5 separate regions of the Homo sapiens genome follow, and regions 2, 3, 4 and 5 are each linked to region 1. The links are contacts of gene promoters, found by promoter capture Hi-C in blood cells and fetal thymus (Javierre and others, 2016). All regions are on one chromosome and are shown on one strand. Each heading gives the region's core, a stretch centred on a gene start or on the middle of the fragment in contact. The rest is flanking DNA. Distances are from core to core; before and after follow the strand shown.

Region 1 (2,700 bases), core at 5-2,504:
GAATCATAGAAATCTGGAAATAAACACTTCATAAATAACGTTTTCAAATATCGCGTCAGGAAAAATTAGACAAAACCAGTTAAGGAGGGAAGTTACATTGAAAAAGACTGAGTTCTACTATCCCCTAAGTTTTGCAAAAATATTTTTAACTTACTTTCTAAAAGTTAGTGAGTTTCCATTATAAAATAGAAAAATTGTCTTCATTCCATGAAAGAACTGTCTGAAAATCAGAAAAGCACCATATCCTGGATTTCAAGGAAGATGAAACTTCTTCTTATCTTCTATTTTACTAAATACTCAAAATAAAATAATCATATTGTATTGAATCTGACATTGTTAAGGAAAATAGCTTAAAATTTTTAAATAATGAGCAATATATTTAATTTTAAAATACGAAGAATTAGGCTAAGGTGGTAATTTTTTAGTGAGTTGAAAGTCCAAACTATGAGTTCGGAAGAAACAGCCCTAAAAGGCAAATAACATGGCTTTGGAATAATCACAGGGCAAATGCTTTGTTCTACATAATTCTTCTTTTGTGAATTTTAAAATGCTCAACAAGTATTAATGAAATATGTCTAAGAAGTAGATATTGCTTTAAAATCTAATTTCCAGAGTCCCGAACTAAGGCAAAGATTGAGATTAAGTCTCCGCCCAAAGTCTTAAGTGAGCCAGTGGAAGATGGCAGTTTATTCATGAATTGTTGGTTATCTGCTGCTTAACTACTTAACACAACCCGGTTTGATTGGTAATCAGATCCTAATAATGTATGTTTCAAAGAAAGGGCAGTTTCCTTAAAATCCTTAAAGACTTGTCACTTTGAAAACTGGAATCAAAATGTGAAAATGTTATCGGTCCATCTGGCAGTGTCCTTGGGTGTTTTTTAGAGTGGTCTCATAGTGCTATTTAACTATGCTGAATATTTGACACCCAGTCTCTGTAGGAAATTGTGATTTTTATCAGCGAAGAGGCAATTAAATGCTGTCATTTGGCACGTCCATCCATCAGGGATCTTATCACCCAAGAAGCATCCAGCAGCAGTTGCTGTCCTTTCCAGCTGGCAGACAGATAACAGAAACTGTCCTGTGTGAGGCACAATAGTCTAACATGATTAGAAATCAGCCAAACTCTGGCTTCTCTTGAGCTATACTCCCCCACAGGCTGAATTATAGCTCTCCTACCAGTCCCACGGCGCTGAATGATGTCATGGGATCTGCAGTTCAGCGAGATGAAAGGGATAAAGCAGAACCCGCTGGCACTAGGAAAAGCTTCCAACACACAGTCCACAACACAGCTTGGGAACCAAAAAAGCTACAGATCCAGCCACTCAGCCCAAGCATGGGAGAACTACCAGCATTGCCTCATTGCAAAAAAGAGGAGGAAAACAACGTGATCCATGTTTAACAAAAGAGTCTGTGGACTAGGAGGTGGGAGGGTAACTACCTGCTGAAAGTGAACTTTCTTTGATATCCATGCATATATATAAACTCAGCCCTGCCTTTGATGTTCAGCAACTGATTCACTGATCAGATTACAGGCATTTCATCTCCCTGCTCGTCTGCCTTTGATCTGCATGGTTAATTTTATTTTCCTGGATTTGAAGTTTCGTCTGGGCTTGTGCTGACATACATTTTTGGGAAGGTAGAAGCATTTGGCACAGAAGTGCTGCCAGGAGAAACTAAGTTGCTGAACGGGTAAGTACTGCAAAGAGCTCAGCATGTTGCAGGTACTCTGTTTTAAGCTTTGTTATAGCTTTCACTGCATTTTTCGCATGTGTTCTGAGAAAAGAATGGTTTTAATTAATTTTTTAGAAAGCATTTATACAGCTGAATACTACATGATGCTGAATGTGTGTATCAGAGTAACTATGGAACTTGATGTAATTTTTAGTAGTTTGTACAAGAGGGTTTGCAGTCTGTCATACAAATTTTACTTGGAAATGAGTTGTACAAACAGGACAAAACAGAACAGCGCTCACTTTAGCATGCAACTGGTACTTCAACCCCTGAGATCTGTGAGCTATAATTGCTCTAAGTATTTACAGGTTACCTTATTTAGTAAACAGTCAGTGCAACTTTGCTTGTTGAAAATGCTTTCTTTGTTTTCTTATATAAAAGAGTAAAATGTATCTCTGGCAATACTGTTTCTTTAGTTTATTTATTCTCTCACTTCCAAGATGTAAATCTATCAAATACACTTCCTTATGCAGTTTGTACACTCAAGGGAATCACTGAAAAACCATCAAGTATGATTAAAGACTTTTATGTGTAAAACTGAAGAATTTAAAAACAGTGAGGATAAAGTTGCACTAAGTTTGGCTAAAAATACTCCAGTGATTTTCTATAACCTTTGGAAATAGCATAAGCCTTATTTACAGAAACATTCACAAGGTTAATATTCCTAAATTAACATTTACTTTACATTTATAGTGACAGCTGTTTTAAGTCAAAATTTGCCAACTGTTTATGAAAACTATCTGAGTAATCAACAGTTATTATGTTACATAAAGTATCTTAGTCACATTTTCACTTTAGCTAATGCCCAACATGACAAAACCAAATTATATTGCTGTACCGAATTTGAAAGTTAACTGTTATTTTTTTGTCAGTTCATGATACACACACACTCACGCTCACACACACACACAGTAAAATCTTTACAGTGAAATATAAAAACTAAATACAATGGAAAAGTAACACTGTT
Region 2 (2,700 bases), core at 118-2,617, 190 kb after region 1:
CAGGATCCCCTGCATCCCCCAGCCACAGCATAGAATCCCTCACACCCTCCAGGAAGCAAGGGATCTCCTGTACCTCTCCACCCAATGGAAGTTTAACCACTACCTGGCCTTTAGAAAGAGATTGGGAAAGCAGGACTACTGATCCTAGGCACCCCTACTTCCTCCCGACAATGCTCCCAGCCTCTCCAGTGCCTTGTTTTGCCTCCATTCTGTGGAAAGGGGTGGGCATCCCGTATCACGTGGTGAGGTCAGAAAAGCCAAGAAAACCCACAGGAGCAGCAGGGGCTGCTTCAGGTAGCACAGGAGCCCTCATACAAGGGTTCCCTCAGACACCACACAGCCACCTCTACACAGTGGCTGCAGGGTAGGGGGATGTCCAGGGCCACCGGTCAGCTGCGGGAAGCAGGAGCAAGCTTGGGTGGGAATGGCCAAGTGGGGCGAGGCTGTGTGGGGAGCCTGCCACTTTCTGCCAGGTTTGGCTGTGTTATGTGGGCTGCAGTTCTCGAGCCCGACTTCCAGATGTAATAGAGTGGGGAATTACTGTGGTCCAAGATGGGGACATTTTAGAACTTACCCCCTTACCTGTTGAAAGGATCCTGTAGAAAACACTCCTTCCAAACCATGGAGGCGACCGCTCTGGACATGAGGTAAGAGTAATATCTAGCACCATACCCCACGAGGTGGCTGAATCGCAGCTGCCAGGCCTGCCAAGAACAGAGAGACACAGCACGGGACACAAGTCAGTTTCCACTTGGAGAATATCACATGTGAGAACACAGTGGAGACACAGAGAGACCCGTAAATGCTTTCATTTGCATTTTACCCTAGAAGGCTACGTCACCTATGATATCAATATTTTCACATTTTATACACTGTTAGGGCTGAACTGTGTCTCCTGAAAATTCACATGTTGAAACCCAAAGCCATACCTCAGAATGTGACTTATTAGGAGACACAGCCTCCAAAGACGTGATTAAGTAAAAGTGAAGCTCTTAGACTGGGCCCTTGCCCAAACTCACTGGTATCTTGGAAGAGGAGGAAAGGTGGATGCCAGGGTGTGGGCACAGAGGAAAGGCTGTCTGCAAGCCAAAGAGGCCTCGGGAGAAGCCAGATCTGCTGACACCTTGGTCTGGACTTCCAGCCTCCAAAACAGTGGGAAGTAAATTTCTGTTGTTTAAGCCACATAGTCTCTGGCATTTTGTGAAGGCAGCCTTAGCACACTAAGACATACACAAAGAAAATTTTGTATCACATAAATATAATCATATATAGATGTATATGTTTTGCTCCAAATATATGGCTATTCTTCTTCATTAAGTGAGTTTAATTACACTGATTATAATACATTTTATTTCACATGACTATCTACAAAAACAGTAAAGTCAGGAGTTTATTTATTTTTAATAATTTAGTTAGTTCAGAGAGTTGTACTCTGCAATGATTCTCTGTTGCATGAACTGCTTTTCATGAACTAGTTTTTGTAACACAAAAACCTTCCATGTTTTTACCATAATTACATTTTATGACAAAACAAAAAGTCACAGAGCAGAAGAAAAATGGGACAGAATTTAAAAATCATTACTATACAAAGAGGGGTAATCTGGGAATGCATTCTTTTTTTTTTTTTTTAAGAAGAGACAAACGCTAAGAACCAAAGATAACCACCAGCAACTTGCCTCTCAGTGGAAGAAGGGTGAACAAACTGTTGTCCCTCCTTCTCTAAGCTCCTTCCACTTATTTTCTAATCATAAGAAGGAAGAAGCGGACACCTAATTGTTTTGTACAAGTTCATCACTTTGGGATTCACTTCTGTGACAGAAACGTAAAGACAGCCTAGAGACGGTGGCAGGAGTGCCAATGGTGGAGCCGGGTGGAGGTGCACATCTGTTCTGACCCACTTGGAACGCCTGGTCATCAACATTGGAGGAGAGAATTTGGAGTCTGGCACAGAGAGAGAGCATCCATTCTATCTCAGGACAATGTAGTAGTTATGATAGGAAAAGCCACATGGATTTTCATGGAAGGACACAGTTCCACTGGAAACTTCTTTTCCTACGAATACTGCTCTTTTTCTGTTGCTAAAGTGGAAAACATCTCCATTCCAATTCATCAGCAGGTGCAGGGCTATGCAAGCACGGCACACGAGCTTGCGATGGTATATCTGCTGTAACGTCACCCCAGCCAAGGCTGGGACTATGAAAACTGTCCTCAAAGGCTACACTTAGGACTTTAACATTTTTACTTTTCTGAAACAAATCTGACACAGCAATCATCCACTTTCTTCTGTCTTTATCTGACATAAACATTTCTTTTAAAAAACAGAAGCTTGGGCCGGGCACAGTGGCTCATGCCTGTAATCCCAGCACATCAGGAGGCTGAGGCAGCTGGGTCACTTGAGGCCAGGAATTCGAGACCAGCCTGGCCAACATGGTGAAACCCTGTCTCTACTAAACATACAAAAATTAGCCAGGCGTGGCGGCACAAGTCTGTAATCTCAGCTACTTGGGAAGCTGAAGCAGGAGAACTGCTTGAACCCGGGAGGCGGAGGTTGTAGTGAGCTAAGATCGCACCACTGCACTCCAGCCTAGGCGACAGAGCAAGAATCTGTCTCAAAAAATAATAATAATTAAAAAATAAATAAACAACTTTTTTAAAAAGCTTAACTTTTTTTTTAACCATGATAACAACACTCTTTAACAA
Region 3 (2,700 bases), core at 136-2,635, 150 kb after region 1:
GGCAGGCTGAAAACCCAGGGAAAGACAATGCTGTGGTACAGGTCTGAAGGCAGGCATGTGGACACCCAGGAGAAGCTGATGGTGCAGATAAAGGCAAGAGGCAGTATTCTCAAGAATCCCCTCTTGCTTGGGAAGGTTGGTCTTGTTCTATTCAAGCCTTCACATGATTGGACAGGGCCCACCTATATTTGGAGGGCATTGTTTTACTCAAAGTCCACTAATTCTAATGTTATTTTCATCTATAAACACCCTCACAGAAACACCAAGAATAAATAATGTTTGTCCACATATCTGGGCACTGTGGCCCAGTGAAGTTGCTACATACAATTAAGCATCACAGTGTCTGTCCTAAGAATGTGTGGTGCACAGCCCTGAACATGGGACTGTGATGCTCCGTGATGGTGCAGGGTGTGTAATACATCACTGCGTTACAGACCTATAGACTGTACCGCAGAAAGAGTGAATGTGAACCAGTGTAACCTGTGGACCCTGGGTCAGTGTAGGTTCATGGGTTGTAACGTGTACCGCTCTGGTGGATGTATGCACATGTTACACAAGAGTGTGTAATACATACTCTTTCTACAGACCTCTGGGGTTGGTGCCCTGCAGCATCACACATGGCCTGGTCTGGCCTCCTGTGCTCCTTGGGGGGCAGCTGACCATGAGGTCAGATGAGCATGATGTGCCATCCCATTGCTCTTCCCATCACCCTGGCCAGGCTTTGTGAATAATCTGTGTTCCTTGCTTCTATTTCCTCATCATTTGTTCCTTACTTTTTCTCTTGGCTTCTCGCTCCATTCACCATTCCCTCAGTTCTAAAATTCCCTGGGAGCCCAGTGTCCTCCCTGATGCCTTGCAGTGCTGAGCGCTGTCACCATTCTACCACTCAGAACCCTTTCCTCTCTCTGCCATGATCCATGCTCTCTTGTGGTGTCTTCAGCTCAACAGTTTGTAACAGCTGCATCAGGTGCTGTATTAGTCTGTTACAAACAAATGTTACAAAAAAATGCCCAGGACTGGGTAATTTATATTTATTTATTTATTTATTTTTGAGACGGAGTCTCACTCTGTCGCCCTTGCTGGAGTGCAGTGGTGTGATCTCAGCTCACTGCAAGCTCCGCCTCCCAGGTTCACACCATTCTCCTGCCTCAGCCTCCCAAGTAGCTGGGACTACAGAAGCCCCCCACCACATCCGGCTAATCTTTTTTTGTATTTTTAGTAGAGACGGGGTTTCACTGTGGTCTCCATCTCCTGACCTCGTGATCCGCCTGCCTCCCAAAGTGCTGGGATTACAGGCATGAGCCACCGCACACAGCTGGGACTGGGTAATTTATAAAGAAAAGAGGTTTAATGACTCACAGTTCCACATGGCTGGAGAGGCCTCAGGAAACTTACAATCATGGTGGAAGGCGAAGGGGAAGCAAGGCACGTCTTACATGGTGGCAGGAGAGAACGAGTGAGGGGGGAGACTGCCACAAACTTTTTTTTTTTGAGACAAGAGTCTGGCCCTGTTGCCCAGGCTGGAGTGCAGTGGCATGATCTCAGCTCACTGCAACCTCTGCCTCACAGGTTCAAGCAATTCTCATGCCTCAGCCTCCCGCATAGCTGGGACCACAGGTATGCACCACCACACCTAGCTAATTTTTGTAGTTTTAGTAGAGATGGGGTCTCACTATGTTGCTCAGGCTGGTCTAAAACTCCTGGGCTCCAGCAATCCGCCTGCCTTGGCCTCCCAAAGTGCTGGGGTTACAGGCATAAGCCACCACATCCAGCCTGCCACATACTTTTAAACTATCAGGTCTCATGAGAACTCATGCACTATCACAAGAATAGCATGGGGAAAATCCCCCCCATAATCCAATCACCTCCCACCAGGTCTCCTCCGACACGTGGGATTGGGTGGGGACACAGAGCCAAACCGTATCAGATGCTGCAGGGGCTGGGGACACTGAGACCACTCAGACCTGGTGTCTCTGTCACTCTTCTGGGCTCTGTCTGTCTCCAGGACCTCCCTCCCCTTCCATGGTATAGAAGGAAAGTGCTGTAATGTGCAAATTGCACAGGAACTCCTTAAGACATACATTATCCACTCAGCAGTTTTAGGTTCGCAGCAAAATGGAGTGGAAGGAACAGAAATTTCCTGTGCACCCCTCCCCGCTGTCTCCGCCATATCGGCATCCTGCATCCAGAGTGGTAGACTGGTTACAGGCTATGAACCTACACTGATGCGGCACCACCACCCAGAGTCCACAGGTTATGTTGGTTCACATTTACTCTTGCTGTGGTATGGTCTATAGGTTTGGACAGATGTCCGATAATCCTTTTTACATTTTGGCATCCTTGGGTAGCTCGTCTTGCAGGAATGGACTTGCTTCAAAGTGGAGGCAGGCAGATCCTTCAGATGGGTATATGGAGCCCTGTTTTCAGTTGCTTTTCTAATTCTCTCTTATCGTTTACCTCAAAATCTTCCTGAGGTCTCGCTTCCTTTTAAAATCCTTGTCTACTTTGCAGCATCACTCTGACACTCCATTGATTCCTCAGCACCTACTGACTACACGGTTAGGAGTGCAAGGGTAGAATTCATGTTTTATTCATCTTTGGGTCTGTAGCACCCAGCAAAGTGCTCAGTAAATGCGCAGTAATTGATTTGACCTCTGAACAAATACACACTGTACTAAGAATCTACACACCGAAAGACAA
Region 4 (2,700 bases), core at 162-2,661, 240 kb after region 1:
TTGCCAGAGAATGAAAGGAACCCAGAAAAACACCGAGCTGAGAGGCAGAAAGAGAGAGAAACATTTCTAACGACATTGTGGGAGACCTAAATCCAACTTACTTGAAACACCCCTATACCCCTGCACCTTTCAGTTACAAGACTCAATAAATTCCCTTTTCTGTTTAAGTCCGTGTGAACCACGTTTCTATCACTTGCAGCTGAGAAAGGCCTGGGTAACATTAAGTCAGTCACATTGCTAACTGCACCAAGAATCACACTGTTAATTGCACTAGGAGTCACGGTGCTCAACTGCTCCTTACACGAGCCTTTGAGTGATGAAAAAAGCCTGTTTGTTTTGAACCCCCATACAATCACTTAACTACCTAGATGATCTCAGACAGGACATATAATGTGTCTGTGCCTCCAAATGAGCCCCAAATACAAGGATATAATTTAATTTATAAGGTTATTTTGAGAGCTAAATTAGAGATCTTTTCCCAAAGGAATTAGATAGAGTCTGGCGCCTAGAATCCAATAAATGGTAACATTACTCCTGCTCTCTCTCCTGACATGGTACTCAACAAGATAAGATATGTAAAGCATCTATTATAATTCCTGGTACAATGTAAGATACTCAATACATGTTAATTCTCTTTGCAATGAAAATGATTCAGGACTGGTAATCACATTCATCTTACATCACTATTTTTCACATTGTAGAAAAATAACTAAAAAGAAGAATATAGACCAACTCCAATGGCCTTTTTAACCCCCACATTTCCAAAAAGGTACAAAAACACTGTTAGAGGGAGGAAAATAAGAACATATAAATGGGTAGTTGGAAATATTAAATGAACCAGGCAATTTCCAGCATTTGAGCCATGTGAAGCCTCAACATAAATGTAGGGATTTCAAGTTCTCCAAAGGGGAAGATAATCACAAGCTACAGAAGTAATAGCAGAACCACTCAATACACAAAACAGAAGCCAAATGCTGGACTCACAGTATTTGGAACATATGGTAGGCCATAGAATTTCTCTTGTGTTTCCTTGAGAATGTCTGTGGTTGAATTCCTCAGGGGATGCTTCCCATGGTAGATTTGATCCAGAGTGGCATAAAAGACCTAGATAGATAAAAACATCTACTTAGTTTTGGTCGTCCATCCTCACATCAAGATGTGGTTGACCAAAGATGCTATAAGTGCACCAGAACAACAGTTACCAATCACAGTTGAAAACAGTCACAAAAATAAACTTACATGGTTTGAAATGTATTTCATACCACATTTAAGACCATGCTAAAGATTAAAAGGAATGCTCTCAACCTTTTCATAAATAAGAATATTAAAGAATTTTGAACCATACCCATAAGATACTCTTTATGTACAATGGCAGCAAATCAAATATGTGACACAAAACTGGAATTTTGCCAAAATATATGTAGACGGAAGGCCAGGCGCGGTGGCTCACGCCTGTAATCCCAGCACTTTGGGAGGCCGAGGCGGGAGGATCACGAGGTCAGGAGATCAAGACCATCCTGGCTAACATAGTGAAATCCCGTTTCTACTAAAAATACAAAAAAATTAGACAGGCGTGGTGGCAGGCACCTCTAGTCCCAGCTACTCGGGAGGCTGAGGCAGGAGAATGGCGTGAACCTGGGAGGCGGAGCTCGCAGTGAGCCGAGATTGCTCCACTGCACTCCAGCCTGGGAGAGACTCCGTCTCAAAAAAAAAAACCAAACAAAAAACAACAACAACAACAAAAAAATCTATATCTATCTATCTATCTATCTATCTATCTATCTATCTATCTATCTATCTGTAGGCAGAAATATACAAAACCAGTTACAACTTTAGACCCGCTGGATCTAACAAATGTTGTTTGGTTTCCTCCTGGAATCCTGATATATCTTAAATGAGAGAAATGAAACGGTCAGAATTCTAGTTTTGTGATAAAAGGTGAAAGAAAATTAAATAGGTGTGGTGGGGGTAGAGAAAGAAATAGCAATGCAGCATCTCGTGAGTATAGATGTATCGAAGAATTCTGATGCAGCTGTTGGAGAGGTTGGAACTAGACTCCCACACCTGGTGTCAGGAAGTACAAAGGAAGCAGCTGCTGTATAGGGAGGGCTCAACTAGATGACCAGGGGAAAAGGAGCACTCTCCTCTGAGTAGAGGATATAGGCCACTGAAACACAGTGGGAGAAGAAAGCATTAAAGAAAGTTTGGACATGAAATCTGCTGTTTACAAAGTACTGAAAACTAAATTTTGCAAAGAAATCTAAAATAAACATAAAGCATTTTTTCACTGCAACATCTGACTCAAATATTGTTTTTCAACACTGACTTGAACATTTGACTTCATGCAGGCAAGTAGAAAATGCTTTATTTTAAAGGACAAATTTTGACACGCAATTATGCTTCTGATATGTATCTTTGTGATTCAGAAATGGGATTTGTAGAGAATGTGCAGCTGTTGACTTGAAAGAAGTGAGGATTAGTTTGGTTAAAAGAGAAAATTTAAATGACCTCTGGCTTCTGGCTGCATCTAGATATAGAATTATGGTTCTAAATTATAAAGTTAAGTTTAAACCTTCCCTAGAAAAATACAGACATTTCCTAAATATAAATATTGCTTTCTTCTAACTGGTAATCTAAACATATAGCTAAATATAGCTCTTTCAATTCTACATTTTATAATGAGTAACGATGCATAAAGAT
Region 5 (2,700 bases), core at 83-2,582, 220 kb after region 1:
AACTAAAGCCATGATGACAGGAAATTTCTACTCTGAGCCCAAGTTAAGTTTAGTCCTGATCCTCCACCTCAGCTGCACTCTTCAGGTAAAAAAGGGTCCCTATGATTACTATCATTTCCATGAGCGTGGCCTCTTTAATGGTTCACAGAGAACTGAATGGCCATACCACTGGGAGTCAGCTGGAGGAGGGTGGGTGTGCATATGTTTGTGTGTTTCCTCTTCTGATTTTAGAAGGAATACATGCTCATTAGAGAAAAAATGGAATACTGTGAAAAATATAAAAAAGGAAACTCCCACCCTTAATCCACGTGTGTGATCAATATTTGCTAATGTTTCAAAGTTTTCTTCAGTCTATTTTAAAAAGACAAAATCACACTATGTATACTTTCCTATCAGTTTTTCCCTAAACTTATTTATGAATTCTTTCTAAACATGAATGACTGCATATTATTTCATATGGGCCATATTAGGCTATGCTATGTTACAATGTGATCACATGAACCCTAAAATCTCTGTGTTTGCTCCTTGAGCATACAACATGTCATCACAGGTCAGTGGGCCCGTCTCGCACTATCAGTATTTAGGAACCCATGTTCTCAAGACCTCCACCAACTGGAATGTCATTGACTGCTGAACCAAGGGCAGGAGATGTGGACAACTGTATAGTAGCTCTCGAAGGCCACAGCCTAGGAATGATACACATCACTTCTGCTCACATTTCTTTGGTCATATTAAGTCACAAGGCCACAAATAACTGCAAGGGGCATGAAAGTGCAATTCTACCATGGGGCAGAGATAGGAGAGCTGGATTACTAGTGAGCAGGCCTAGTGACAACCACATGATGCGCACTAGTTTATCTAGCCATTCCTTGAATGCTGGATTCTTTCCAATGTTTTTGTACATGTTATGATGATCAGTTCACCAAGCTTTATTGGATTTCTATTTATTCCTTTAGAACAAATTCTTAAATGTTACATTATTGGCTTAAGGGATATGTAAACTCTTCAGGTTCTTGGTCCCTCCTTTTAAACAAATTTATCCTTTTATGAACAAATATAAAATTATCTATCTCAGTGGAGCAATCCTCCTACCTCAGCCTCCCAAGTAGCTGGGACTACAGGCATGCAGCAACATGCCCAGCTAAGTTTATTTTTTGTAGAGACATGGTCTCGTCATGTTGCCCAGGCTGGTCTTGAACTCCTGGGCTCAAGCAATCTGCCCACCTTGCCTTCCCAAAGTGCTGGGATTACAGGTGTGAGCCATTGCACCTGGCCAATGTTGGGATTTTTAAAAAATTGTTCTTCTGTTGTCATTGTTTTATTTGTATGAGCTCTTTATGCAGCAAAACGTAAACCATATGTCACAGATGTTATAATTTAAAAAAACCAGTTTGTTTGCCAGTACATTTTATTCATCATGTTTTATGAGAGAAGTTCAAATCTACTACTCTTTGCATTTGTGATTTCTTCCATTTCTATTACATTTACCAACCTTCTCTAAATGAAAAAGAGCTATCTGTCTATAGAAGCCTTTTTTAATGGCTTATGTTTTTCCATTTAAATGTTTACTCTATCTGGAATTTACTTCATGACAGTAAAATAGAGTAACAGAAAGAGCTCCAGTCCAAATGTCAGGCAATGTGTGTACTAATTCTGCCCGGAACACCTTAGGTAAATGCCTTAGTCCTCAGTCTATTCTGGCCCCATAGCATTACTCCAAAGTTTGGAAAGCTACGCAAAGCTTCTTAGCTTCAGCACAAAACTGAACGGTCATCCTGGCCTCTGCATTACCCAGAGTATCAGGTACAAATAAAGAGAAAGAAATACTGTACTTCTATTTGGCAAGCTAACATAAAAACAGATCTCACTTTCCATGCCCTTCTTGTTGACCCTCAGTTTCTCCCACCTGCCGGGTTTGGGGCTTTCCTCATCCTACGCCCTCGTGCTCTGCTGGGAATTCCCACCCTCCCCTCTACCCGCACTAGCAGTTCCACTGCGATCAGTCTTGAGACCTTTAACCCTGTGGATACCCATGACTATGGCAGCACTGCTCTCCTGGCTGTTCTCTGTATCCACTTTCTGCCCTCTTCTTTTTCCTCCCTTTTCTTCTGCTGAGCTTTCTAAAATCCAGTCATCAGCAAAACCACCTGTATTTTCCTCTGCCTTCTTTGAAGGTTCCTTTCACCTTTTTATTCTAAAAGAAACCCAGGTCTCTGCTAAGAACCATACTTCCCTTGCAACTTTTTCATGACACGGCTGGTTTCTCGCCAAATCCTGCATATGACTGGGTCTGAAGGCAAGTAGGTGTTGGCTCTGGTTTTCACTGCCAGTTCCTTCTCCTTCAGAACACTCCAACTCTGATTTTGCTGACAGTGGACCATAATCCTCTTTACCCTTCACTACTGCAGTCACTAGCAGAAGCGTCCGTCCTTCTCACTCACTCCTTGAAGATTTCTTACTTCTGTTTTACTTCACTCTCACCAATCCTACTCCTGTTAGAATTCTGATGACAGCAATGCCCCCAAAGCTAATCTTTCAAATGTTCTGTGTGGCAGAAAGAATAATGCCCTCTCCTCCAAAGATGTCCACATCCTATCCCTAGAACCTGTGAATGTCACCTTATTTGGGAAAAAAATGGACTTTGCAGATGTGATTAAGCTAAAGATCCTGAGGTGAGAAGGTTATCCTGAATTATCTGAG

What was found. Contacts are between HindIII fragments. The CHiCAGO score rates a contact against its expected background, and 5 or more counts as called.
Region 2: a fragment that was not itself captured here is called in contact with the fragment with the promoter of TNFRSF19 in region 1 in 1 of 17 cell types (M2 macrophages); the score reaches 6.2 in M2 macrophages.
Region 3: a contact is called between a fragment that was not itself captured here and the fragment with the promoter of TNFRSF19 in region 1, in 1 of 17 cell types (M2 macrophages). The highest score is 5.9, in M2 macrophages.
Region 4: a contact is called between a fragment that was not itself captured here and the fragment with the promoter of TNFRSF19 in region 1, in 2 of 17 cell types (M2 macrophages and erythroblasts). The highest score is 8.0, in M2 macrophages.
Region 5: a fragment that was not itself captured here is called in contact with the fragment with the promoter of TNFRSF19 in region 1 in 1 of 17 cell types (M2 macrophages); the score reaches 6.5 in M2 macrophages.

Annotation. Positions count from the first base shown.
Region 1 is chr13:23,569,158-23,571,857 of GRCh38, forward strand. It overlaps TNFRSF19 (TNF receptor superfamily member 19), which reads left to right and starts at 1,255. Exons shown (of 10, transcript NM_148957.4): 1 at 1,255-1,691. The HindIII fragment of the contact is 1,879 bases long and covers 1-1,263 here.
Region 2 is chr13:23,759,514-23,762,213 of GRCh38, forward strand. MIPEP (mitochondrial intermediate peptidase) reads right to left here. Exons shown (of 19, transcript NM_005932.4): 17 at 583-704. Among named protein-coding and RNA genes, the nearest start is that of PCOTH, 130 kb to the right of the region's middle. The HindIII fragment of the contact is 1,912 bases long and covers 412-2,323 here.
Region 3 is chr13:23,719,571-23,722,270 of GRCh38, forward strand. No RefSeq gene overlaps it. Among named protein-coding and RNA genes, the nearest start is that of TNFRSF19, 150 kb to the left of the region's middle. The HindIII fragment of the contact is 3,546 bases long and covers 1-2,700 here.
Region 4 is chr13:23,804,966-23,807,665 of GRCh38, forward strand. MIPEP (mitochondrial intermediate peptidase) reads right to left here. Exons shown (of 19, transcript NM_005932.4): 16 at 985-1,104. Among named protein-coding and RNA genes, the nearest start is that of PCOTH, 83 kb to the right of the region's middle. RefSeq lists an enhancer at 1,957-2,106. The HindIII fragment of the contact is 5,872 bases long and covers 1-2,700 here.
Region 5 is chr13:23,787,833-23,790,532 of GRCh38, forward strand. All of the region lies in intron 16 of MIPEP (mitochondrial intermediate peptidase), which reads right to left. Among named protein-coding and RNA genes, the nearest start is that of PCOTH, 100 kb to the right of the region's middle. RefSeq lists an enhancer at 2,063-2,112. The HindIII fragment of the contact is 814 bases long and covers 926-1,739 here.